4 separate regions of the Homo sapiens genome follow, and regions 2, 3 and 4 are each linked to region 1. The links are contacts of gene promoters, found by promoter capture Hi-C in blood cells and fetal thymus (Javierre and others, 2016). All regions are on one chromosome and are shown on one strand. The core of a region is centred on a gene start or on the middle of the fragment in contact, and the rest is flanking DNA. Distances in the headings are between cores, read along the strand shown.

Region 1 (2,644 bases), core at 50-2,549:
CGCGGCTGGCTGGGGTCGCCCCTAAGCTGGGGATCTGGGCGAGGACAGAGGCGGCAAGCAAAAGAGGGTCCTACAGAGCAAGCCCAGGCCGAGCGGCGCCGGCCACCGGCCAGATGGCAGCTGATGGCGACGGATGCGCGAGACGCCACTCACCATCATTTTGGAAGCTTATTCAGCGGCCCGCCACTCTCCCCTCTTCTCCGAGACCGGGCCGCCCAGCAACCCACAATGCCTCGCGCAATAGAAATACCCAGAAGCTTGGGCCGGGAGAGGAAGAGAACGGACCACTTCCGCTACTCTATGGTTCGTTACCACCGACTCGGTGCGGCTAGAAGGACCTGAGGCTGGGCTTCGGGGACTCTCTAGTGAGGGGCGTTCATTAAAGAGGGGTCGCCGCATTTCGGTCGTGCTTCTTAGAGCACGGAGGGTCTTTGCTCGGCCCGCATCACCTACTAACTTAATTCCACCCTCCTCCATCCCCGGACGCCAGACCAAGGAATGCAATAAAGGCAAAAGTGTGGGACGCAAAGTGTGGGATAGGCTGGTGCCAAAGCACTTTACGTGAGCGATCTCATTTAATCCTCACAACCCTATTGCGTTGGTCCTATTAAGGCCATTTTACTGATGACAGAAAGGAGGCTGAGAGGTCAAGGTGTCCAGTGTCACAGTTACATAGTCAGTGTCAACGGGACGAGCGTGGGAAGCTGCCCCCAATGCCCGTTTTCTGGCTTTGCACTGGCCAGAGGCTCCTCGTGGATGGCGTGCGCCAGGCCGCGGCCCCAGCGCCTATCCACGGTGAGCGCGCAAGCGTTGGTGGCACTGGGCGGAAGACCCCCTGGCGCAAGACGAGTGCCTTCCCGTGAAGGCGTGGGGAGGAGGGAAGCGCAGCTGGGAGGAGGGAAGCGCAGCTGGGAGAAGGCTAATCGTCGTCAATCGAGGCGGCCTTGGAGTGGACAGGACCGAGACCGCAAGGGTTAACGGCCTCGACTATCGACAGCTGAAGCAAGTCCGGCTACGGGCACACCTCCAGTGCTTGTCCTCCCTGGCCCGCCCACCGCCAGCGAGGACCCGGAGAGTATGCTGGGGCGGGGCTGAGGCGAAGGCCGGTTGTAGCTGTTAAGAGTTTAAGCCAATCAGCCCCCGGCTCCACTTCTCTCGACCAATAGGAAGTAGGCTAAGGCGCAGAGGCGGAAAGTGTGGCTACATGAGCAGGCGTCAGAGCCAATCAGCCTTGAGCCTCGTTCCCGTCGTCCAGCCCGCGGCGAGAGCGGGTATGTGGGCGGGAGGCCGGAGCAGCTGTCAGGCTGAAGTCCTGCGAGCGACGCGCGGCGGGGCGGCGAGAGGAAACGCGGCGCCGGGCCGGGCCCGGCCCTGGAGATGGTCCCCGGCGCCGCGGGCTGGTGTTGTCTCGTGCTCTGGCTCCCCGCGTGCGTCGCGGCCCACGGTGAGCGGCAACGGGTGGGACTGCGTTGCAGGGCGGGGCTGGCCGTCCAGCTTGCGCGCGTCTCGGGTTGGGGGCCAAGGGTCACCTTGGGGACCCTGCGAGTTCAGAGCAGGACAGGTCTGGGAGCGGGCGGCCGGAATAAGTGGGTGGTGGTCCAAGGACATAAAGTGGGCGCAGCCTGAGGCTGAAGCTCTGACTCCTCACCTTCCCACGACAAAGCAGATCTCCCCACTCGCCCCTCCCCGCCCACTAGCGCCGACCCAGGTGACTTAGGGTGCGACCAGAAGGGACAGCTAAGGAAGGATACTACAGGCTGGAGATATGTATGTGAGCATTCACATGTACACAGGAGCACACATTCCTACACGTGGGCACACACGCACAAACCGTTTACACCTACACAAGCACATAAATGTATACATCTATGCACATAAGTGAGCACATACGTATACCCACAACTTACACAAATAAGCACACACAAAGGCAAGCAAGGGTTGGGGAGGAGGGAGTGAGTTTGACGCTAGTCCAGGAAGGCTTTCTGGGGGTGTATTTGTATCCGAGAGGGAGTCCCCACTCCCAGGACTGTATAGCCCAGTGCCAAGCCATGGGAGCTCTAACTGATGGCTGTGATTTGGGCAGTAAACAAAGACAGCTAAAGCCTTAATGCCATCCTTGGTACACAGTAGTGACTTGGTAGTTTGTTGATAGACTAACAGACTTGTGACAGCAGTTTTCTTTTTTTCTTTTTTTTTTTTTTGAGACGGAGTCTTGCTCTGTCGCCCAGGTTGCAGTGCAGTGGCCCGATCTCGGCTCACTGCAAGCTCCGCCTCCCGGGTTCACGCCATTCTCCTGCCTCAGCCTCCCAAGTAGCTGGGACTACAGGCGCCCACCACCACGCCCGGCTAATTTTTTTGTATTTTTAGTAGAGACGGGGGTTTCACCGTGTTAGCCAGGATGGTCTCGATCTCCTGACCTCGTGATCTGCCCGCCTCGGCCTCCCAAAGTGCTGGGATTACAGGCGTGAGCCACCGCGCCCGCCCATGACAGCAGTTTTTATCTTTCAACATTCCGCAGTCTCTCTGGGTTAAGGAAACCAGGGACTCAAGTCCAGGTACAACATTAAACTTTGGTGCTGAGGAGAAGATCCCATGCCCCAGAAAAATCTAGTGGTCTGGAAATTCTCTTCATCGGTGCTGTGGA
Region 2 (2,644 bases), core at 85-2,584, 1.2 Mb before region 1:
TAAATAAAAATAAAAAATTATACATATTTGTAATGCTTTTTAAGAGATGGGGTCCCACTATGTTGCCCAGGCTGGACTTGAACTTTCGGGCTCAAGCAATCCTCCCACCTTAGCCTCCCGAGTAGCTGGGACTACAGGTGTGCACCACCATGCCAGGCCAATTTGTGTGTGTGTGTGCGTGTGTGTGTGTGTTTTGTTGAGACAGGGTTTCATGTTGCCCAGGCTGGTCTCCAACTCCTGAGCTCAAGAGCGATCAGTCCCCCTTGGCCTCCCAAAGTGCTAGGATTACAGGCTTGAGCCACTGCACCCAGCCATCTTTTTTTTAGACGTAGTTTCGCTCTTGTTTCCAAGGGTGGAGTGCAATGGTGGGGTCTCAGCTCACCACAACCTCTGCTTCCCGGGTTTAAGCGATTCTCCTGCCTCAGCCTCTCAAGTAGTTGGGATTACCGGCATGTGCCACCATGGCCGGCTAAATTTTGTATTTTTAGTAGAGATGGGGTTTCTCCATGTTGGTCAGGCTGGTCTCGAACTCCCAACCTCAGGTGATCCACCCTCCTAGGCCTCCCAAAGTGCTGCGATTACAGGCGTGAGCCACCGCGCGCAGCTGCTCTTTATGACTGCAAATATGGGGCACTTGCCTTGTGCCAGGCACTATGCTGGGCATTTTACCCTCATTCTTATAGGTAATCCTCATAGCAACTTGAGGAGTGGAGATAATTACAGTATTCCCACTGAACAAATGAGAAAACTGAAGCTCAGAAAGGCCAGTGACTGGACCAAGTTAATGATTGCACGGTTAGTTAGTGACAGAGCTGGGGTTTCACGACGTGTTTAAGCACCGCCCCATCAGTTGTGGCCACTAGGCTTAGGCGGATAGCCTCGCAGAGGAGCCTAGGTGGGGAGGGGGACGAAGAAGGAACATTTGGGACTGTGGGATGTTGAAATGGTCTCTTCGGAGGCTGCCGGGATTGAAACTGGGCAAGGTCCCAGGGCCCGAGTAGAGCCAGAGCGTGCTACGCGGCGATCCCTGAGCCACGGGGTTTTCAGCGCCCGGGAAGCCAGGCTTGCCAGGTTGGGGCGGCTGGCGGGGCAGGGCTTCTCGGTCCGTCCCAAGTCCAGGTAGGCGCTCGCGACCCGCGCGGGCAGGGAGAACGCGCTCCCACAGTGCTCGCGAGGTGCAGTGCGCCCCTGGGGGCTCCGGGGCCGTCGGGCCAGGTCGGCTTGGCGCCCAGGGACTGGCCGGACGGGCTGGGCCTTTGGCGGGGGTGGAAGAGGAGGTTGCCGCGCCCTGCCCGGCCCAGGTGTCGTCTCCGGGGGCGGGGTTTGGAGCCCCGCAGCGGGAGATTCCCGGCCGGACTGGCGGACGAGCGTCGAGAGACAGAAGCCGAGGAGAGGAGGCTAAGCCGGGCGGCGCGGGGAGCGCACTGAGCAGGCAAAGTCGCAGGGCCGCCAGCATGTTCTCCCGAAACCACCGGAGCCGGGTCACCGTGGCCAGGGGCTCCGCCCTGGAGATGGAGTTCAAACGCGGCCGCTTCCGACTCAGCCTCTTCAGCGACCTGCCCGAGGTGAGAGACTCGCGTCCCTGCCTTCCCCTTCCGCGGCTCCCGGGGGCAGCCCCAGCCACCTCGGCCTCCTTCCCTCGCCCGCGTGCACGCCGAGGGGCGGAGACGCACGGTCTGGGTACAAACCCGACGGAGTTGTTGACTTAAAAAGTAAGGTGTGGACGGTCTGCATTTTCATCGGATCCATGCTGCCCATTCCGCGGCCTGGTTAGGATTATCTGCCTGAGCCTGGAAAAAGCCCGGGTTGGTCTCAATTTGTAGGGCCCCAGCTCGACTCCTAAAATGTGCCTGAACCCCAAAATGTCTTGGGCATCCCCGGGCCAAGGGCGGTGGGCAGCTAGGCGGGCCCCAAGCGCTCGGACTCTTGGCCTGGGCTCCCGCTTGTTCCCCAGTCGCCAGCCCCATCCCACAACCTGTCGCAGCCATCTGGGCCAGCCTCTGTCATCAACCCCGACTTTAGGCCGGGGCCGCTCGCTTCCCCGAAGCCCAATTCAAAGGCTCCTCTATGCCCCTGCAGGGCTTTTAACTCCTTGGGGTTACTTCCCACACGCAAAATTTCCGCCTCCTTTTCTGGGGCCTAAGAGGAGTCCAGCCCCTAGGCTGAGCGTTTCCCCCGTCCGCCGTCCACGCGTTAACCTGTTGGATCCCCACCTGTAACGCCCTAAGGGCTAGGGCGGGGCTGAAGGTGTGTGGTTGAGCGGGGACTGAGAGGGCGAATAGCTACCCCGAAGACTCTTCTGTCCCCAAGGTCAGACTCACACTCGCCCAAGGAGAGCCCAGTTCCAAGCCTTCCCTTCCGGGTCTGGAAAGGGTTAAGTGAGGTGGGCCTTCCTTCCGCCCCCTCTACCTCCCGGCTGGGATTCCAGGCCTGGCTTCTGCCCTTTCCCTCCAGCCTGCCCAGAACAAAGAGGCTCTTTCACACCCTTGTCCCGGCGTCCCGGGCCTTCTCTGACTCAGAAGCTAGTGGACCTGGGGAGAGGGGGCCTTTGTCGCGTCCCCTTGCCCCCAAGCGACTGGGCCCGAGGAACCCGCGTGGGGCCAGCGTGGGGGAGTAAGGGGCGAGGCCCGGGACCAGGGGGAGG
Region 3 (2,644 bases), core at 85-2,584, 1.2 Mb before region 1:
CAGGAGAGTCCTCTTCTTACCTGTATTCCTCGATGTGAGGTGAGTACCAGCAGCACTCGGAAGGGGAGGACACACCAGTGGACCTGGAGGGAGGTGCATCAGTGTAGGGAGAAAATCAAAGCAGGGAAGATGAGTTTGTTTGTTTTTTTTTTTTTTTTGGGGGACGGAGTCTTGCTCTGTGGCCCAGGCTGGAGTGCAGTGGCGCCATCTCGGCTCACTGCAACCTCAGCCTCCTGGGTTCAAGCGATTCTCCTGCCTCAGCCACCCAAGTAGCTGGGATTACAGGTGCACGCCACCACACCCGGTTAATTTTTTTTGTATTCTTAGTAGAGAAGAGGTTTCACCATGTTGGCCAGGCTGGTCTCGAACTCCTGGCCTCAAGTGCCCGTCTCAGCCTCCCAAAGTGTTGGGATTACAGGCGTGAGCCACCGCGCCCGGCAGGAGAGGGGAGATTCTGAGGTTAGGACATGCCTGGGGAGATTCTGAGGTTAGGACATGCCTGCTCCTGAAGGTTTGGAGAGAAAAGGCTGGGGGTAGGACTGGGTTCAGCAACATCACTCCCAGCTCCATGCCTCACCTGAGTGATAAGTGGGGGACTCACTCCAGCACCCTCCTTAGCGTGGAGCTGGCGCTGGGCCAAGGGCACACCCTCAGGAGCAGCGCTGAGAAGCTGGGCGCTTGGTCCATGAACCACGCCAAAATACGTGAGGTTGCGAGCCGGCAGCTGCAGCACACTGAGGTTGTTGCACAGGGCGGCGGCCGAGCCTCGCAGGGGAATGGAGCGCTCCCAGCGGAACATCCTGTGTGGGGGTGCAGCCGAATCACCAGGCGCGCTACAAACAGACGCAGCGGAGATGCCCGAGGGCGGCTATCATCGAGCATTTCGGAAGATGCCTGAGACTGGGTCATAGGATGGGGTGCCCAGAGGACGGTGATGGGGGAGGGTCTCGAGGAGCAAGACAGGGGAGTCCCAGGGCTGTTTTGGGGCGACGGGGGAATCGCAGAGGAGGAATGGGGATGACACAGGACCACCCGATGGCCCCAAGCCCGCGAGCCAAATAAGTGTGATGAAGCCCCCAAGGCTTTCTCCCTCGGCTCGGATCCCTGAAGCCCCCGGCCTAGATCAGAGGTAACACCTGCAGCCCCAGATCGGCTCGCCTGACTCCTGGTTCGTAGGGTCCCTCCAAATCCGCCGCCACCATAGAGACGACGCACGTACGCACGGCCCTTGGGCGGGGTGAGCGGCCGGAACGTGCCGCGGGCGGCGCGGTTGCCGGGGCAACTGTGGGCGGGGCGAGCGACCCCGAGCCCGTGGTTGCCCAGGCGACTGTTAGGTGGCTTACGCGGCCCGGATGCAGCAGAAACACCAGCGTTGCTGCGACCGCGTTGGCGATGGCGCACGAAGGCTCGGTGAGCTTCAGTTCAGCTGGGGATGCGCCAGAGCCAGGGTCGGCCGTTAAGGTCGGTGTCGGGAACAGTGGGCTGGCTCTGGGCCGCCCAGTGCCCCTACTTGCTCCCGCCCACCGCGCGGGAGTTTAGATGACCAAGGAAGCCACGTCGGTACTCGGGCAGAAAACCTACACCTGCACGGTGCCCACTCAAACGCTTTGTTACACTCAAGCCATGAGGGAAAGGGTCAGTGGGTGGTGTAGAGCCCGAGAACAGGAAGTGGATTTTGAAACAGCTAATGAATGTAGTAAGTCTCTTACATGGTGGTGCGTATTTAAATGGATGAGCATTTAGAGAGGGAAGATAACAGAAAAAATCTATTTCGAGAATTTCAAGAGGAAGAAATATATTAAATAATTCAGAGACTGCACTTGAAAGTCAAATTGTTTAAGAGCCAATCAATTTTAAAATAAAGAAAACGGGGCCGGTCTCAATGGCTCATGCCTGTAATCCCAGCACTTTGAGAGGCTGAGGCGGGAGGATTGCCTGAGCTCAGGAGTTCAAGACCAGCCAGGCCAACATGGCGAGACCCCGTCTCGACTAAAATACAAAAAATTAGCTGGATGTGGTGGCGCGGTGCCTGTAATCCCAGCTACTCGGGAGGCAGAGGCAGGAGAATTGCTTGAACTCGGGAGGCGGAGGTTGCAGTGAGCCGAGATCGCGCCACTGCGCTCTAGCCTGGGTGACAGAGAGAGACTGTCTCAAAAAAAAAAAAAAAAAAAAAAAAAAAAGAAGAAGAAGAAAGAAAACGGATTTGAAGAGCCTTTGTGCAAAAATATCTCTGTCCCTTCTGGTCACCATCACGGGTGTCAGATGCGAGGCTGGGAGGGGAGGTCTAAGGAAACAACTCTCTTTACTCAGTCCAGTCAGCCCTGCTCTAGTCAAGCTTGGCCTGGGCTATGGGCCACTCCTGGTGCTTGCTACAGGGCTGTTCTCACTGGTGGATAGGGTTAATGAGACTTCAGGGATTTTGAGTTCTGCAAGACTTAGGAAACAGCAGATTTGGGGGGATAATGAATTTTAGGAAACAGATATGAGACAAGGTTTTAGCGGGGCAATAGGCAAAGGTTTGGGAAGATCACATTTGGAAGTACATTTTGGAAGGAACCAGGTTCAGGGAGACTGTTGTGGGGAATTGAGGGAGCTCCCAAGAGATTGTTTGTAAACTTTTTATGTCTCTAAAGTGAGTTTTGGG
Region 4 (2,644 bases), core at 86-2,585, 1.2 Mb before region 1:
TTGTTAAATATTATATCCAGCATTTTTAGTTGCAGTATATCAGAAGTTTCCGTAATATTTAGTCCACGGTAGCACCAGAAATGGAAGCACTTAATTTGTTCCTCTCTCCCTCCTTCCCTCCCTTTTTTCCTTCTTTTATTCTTTCCTTTCTTGCTTGCTTTTGCATTTGAATACCTAATTGTCCCAGCACCATTTTTTGAATGGTATATCTTTCCCTCACTGATCAATAATACAAATTTTGTCATATATTAAGTTTTTGGCCTGGTGTGGTGGCTTGCACCTGTAATTCCAGCGCTTGGGGAGGCCAAGGTACGGGAATCACTTTAGGCCAAGAGTTCAAGACCAACGTAGGCAACATGGCAAGACCCCGTATCTACAAAAATAAAAATAAAAAAATTAGCCAGGTGTGGTGATGACTGCCTGCAATCCTAGCTACTCAGGAGGCTGAGGCAGAAGGATTGCTTGAGCCCAGGAGTTAGAGGTTACGGCTATGATCACACTACTATATTCCAGCCTGGGTCACAGAGTGAGAACCTGTCTCTAAAACAATAATAATAATTTTAAAAAACGAAGTTTTTGTAGGTATATGTTTTAGTTTGTTTTTAGATCTAGACTCTTTCTATCCCTACGTCAATACTATATTGCTTTACTTAATAAACTTTAAAATAAGCACACACACACACAGCCACACTCTTTTTTTTTTTGAGATGGAGTCTTGCTCTGTCACCCAGGCTGGAGTGCAGTGGCGCAATCTCGGCTCACTGCAAGCTCCACCTCCTGGGTTCACACCATTCTCCTGCCTCAGCCTCCTGAATAGCTGGGACTACAGGCGCGCGCCACCATGCCCGGCTAATTTTTGTATGTTTAGTAGAGATGGGGTTTCACCGTGTCAACTGTCTTCTTTTTTTCAGAAGTTTCCTGGCTAATTTTTTGCCCTTTGCTTTTCTCTACAAAATTACTAATTTGTTGTCAAGTTCCTAGAATATCCTGATAGAATATTGATTGGAGTTATCTCAAATACATATTATTAATACAGGGCAACTAACTTCTTTATGACTTTAAATTTTCCTATTCATAAGTGTGCTATATCTCTCATTCATTTAAGCTACCTTTTTTTTTTTTTCCAGATGGACTCTCGCTTCTTTGCCCAGGCTGGAGTATAGTGGCACGATCCCTGCTCACTGTAACCTCTGTCTCCTGGTTCAAGCGATTCTCCTGCTTCAGCCTCTTGGGTGATTACAGGCGGGTGCCAGCACACCCGGCTAATTTTTGTATTTTTAATAAAGATGGAGTTTTGCCATGTTGGCCAGGTTGGTCTCGAACTCCTAACCTCAAGTGATCCACCAGCCTTGGCCTTGCAAAGTGTTGGGATTACAGGCGTGAGCCACAGGCTATCTTTAATGTATGTTTCCAAATATAATTTTGTAATTTTGGGTTGTGCACATCTCTCATCTCTCAGTCTTTTTTATTTTTTTGAGACGGAGTCTCTCTCTGTCACCCAAGCTGGAGTGCAGTGGTGCGATCTCGGCTCACTGCAGCCTCCACCTCCCGGGTTCAAGCAATTCTTCTGTCTCAGCCTCCCAAGTAGCTGGGATTACAGGCATCACACTCAGCTAATTTTTGTATTTTTAGTAGAGACGGGGTTTCACCATTTTGGCCAGGCTGGTCTCGAACTCCTGACCTCAAGTGATCTGCCTGCCTCGGCCTCCCAAAGTGTTAGGATTACAGGCGTGAGCTACCCTGCCTGACCACCCCACCTTTTTTTTTAAGACGGAGTCTCGTTCTGTCACTCAGGCTGGAGGGCAGTGGCACAATCTCGGCTCACTGCAACCTCTGCCTCCCGGGTTCAAGCAATTCCCCTGCCTCGGCATCCTGAGTAGCTGGGATTACAGGCGCGTGCCACCATGCCTGGCTAATTTTTGTATTTTTAGTAGAGACGGGGTTTTACCATGTTGGTCAGGCTGGTCTCAAACTCCTGACCTTGTGATCCGCCTGCCTCGGACTCCCAAAGTGCTGGGATTACAGGTATGAGCCACTGAGCCTGGCCGGGTTGTGCACATATTTTGTTGTTTATTACTAGGTGCATCAGTTTCATTTCAAAAATTATATAATTTAACTTTTCATTGTTGGTTAGAGAAATGCAATTGAGTTTTGCATGTTGATTTTATATCTAGTCACGTTGCTAAATATTTTCTAATCAATCCTAATAATTTACAGATTATTTTGGCTTTTTTTTTTTTTTTGAGATGGAGTTTTGCTTCTTCGCCCAGGCTGGAGTGCAGTGGTGCAATCTCGGCTTACTGCAACCTCTGCCTCCCTCCCAGGTTCAAGCAATTCTCCTGCCTCAGCCTCCCAAGTAACTGGGATTACAGGTACGTGCTAGCATGCCCAGCTAATTTTTGTATTTTTAGTCGTGATGGGGTTTCACCATGTTGGCCAGACTGGTCTCGAACTGCTGACCTCAAGTGATCCACCCACCTTGGCCTCCCAAAGTGCTGGGATTACAGGCGTGAGCCACTGCACCCGGCCTATTTTGGCCTTTTCCATGTAAGTCATCATATCATCTGTGAAAAATGACAGTTTAATTTCCTTCTTTCTAATCTTTATGTCTTTTATATACGTTTTTCTTGCCTTGATGCACTAG

Evidence for each region. The method cuts DNA at HindIII sites, captures the fragments that hold promoters and counts their contacts. A CHiCAGO score of 5 or more calls a contact.
Region 2: a contact is called between the fragment with the promoter of RTKN here and the fragment with the promoter of PRADC1 in region 1, in 1 of 17 cell types (naive CD8 T cells). The highest score is 5.1, in naive CD8 T cells.
Region 3: a contact is called between the fragment with the promoter of C2orf81 here and the fragment with the promoter of PRADC1 in region 1, in 1 of 17 cell types (naive CD8 T cells). The highest score is 6.2, in naive CD8 T cells.
Region 4: a contact is called between a fragment that was not itself captured here and the fragment with the promoter of PRADC1 in region 1, in 1 of 17 cell types (neutrophils). The highest score is 5.8, in neutrophils.

The regions. Positions count from the first base shown.
Region 1 is chr2:73,231,894-73,234,537 of GRCh38, reverse strand. It overlaps PRADC1 (protease associated domain containing 1), which reads left to right and starts at 1,299. Exons shown (of 5, transcript NM_032319.3): 1 at 1,299-1,444. The coding sequence starts at 1,378. It overlaps CCT7 (chaperonin containing TCP1 subunit 7), which reads right to left and starts at 230. Exons shown (of 12, transcript NM_006429.4): 1 at 154-230. The coding sequence starts at 159. RefSeq lists enhancers at 343-412, 533-582, 224-755 and a silencer at 1,043-1,252. The HindIII fragment of the contact is 3,259 bases long and covers 260-2,644 here.
Region 2 is chr2:74,440,627-74,443,270 of GRCh38, reverse strand. RTKN (rhotekin) reads left to right here and starts at 1,334. Exons shown (of 12, transcript NM_001015055.2): 1 at 1,334-1,565. The coding sequence starts at 1,455. RefSeq lists silencers at 1,244-1,323, 1,634-1,693, 2,409-2,644. The HindIII fragment of the contact is 8,784 bases long and covers 1-2,644 here.
Region 3 is chr2:74,420,309-74,422,952 of GRCh38, reverse strand. It overlaps C2orf81 (chromosome 2 open reading frame 81), which reads left to right and starts at 1,334. Exons shown (of 3, transcript NM_001316764.3): 1 at 1,334-1,410. The coding sequence starts at 1,393. WDR54 (WD repeat domain 54) reads right to left here and starts at 1,223. Exons shown (of 10, transcript NM_032118.4): 1 at 1,137-1,223; 2 at 578-800; 3 at 21-83. The coding sequence starts at 799. RefSeq lists an enhancer at 544-723 and a silencer at 1,124-1,403. The HindIII fragment of the contact is 12,224 bases long and covers 1-2,337 here.
Region 4 is chr2:74,397,185-74,399,828 of GRCh38, reverse strand. DCTN1-AS1 (DCTN1 antisense RNA 1) reads right to left here. Exons shown (of 3, transcript NR_158174.1): 3 at 1,161-2,644. Among named protein-coding and RNA genes, the nearest start is that of DCTN1-AS1, 13 kb to the right of the region's middle. The HindIII fragment of the contact is 2,857 bases long and covers 1-2,644 here.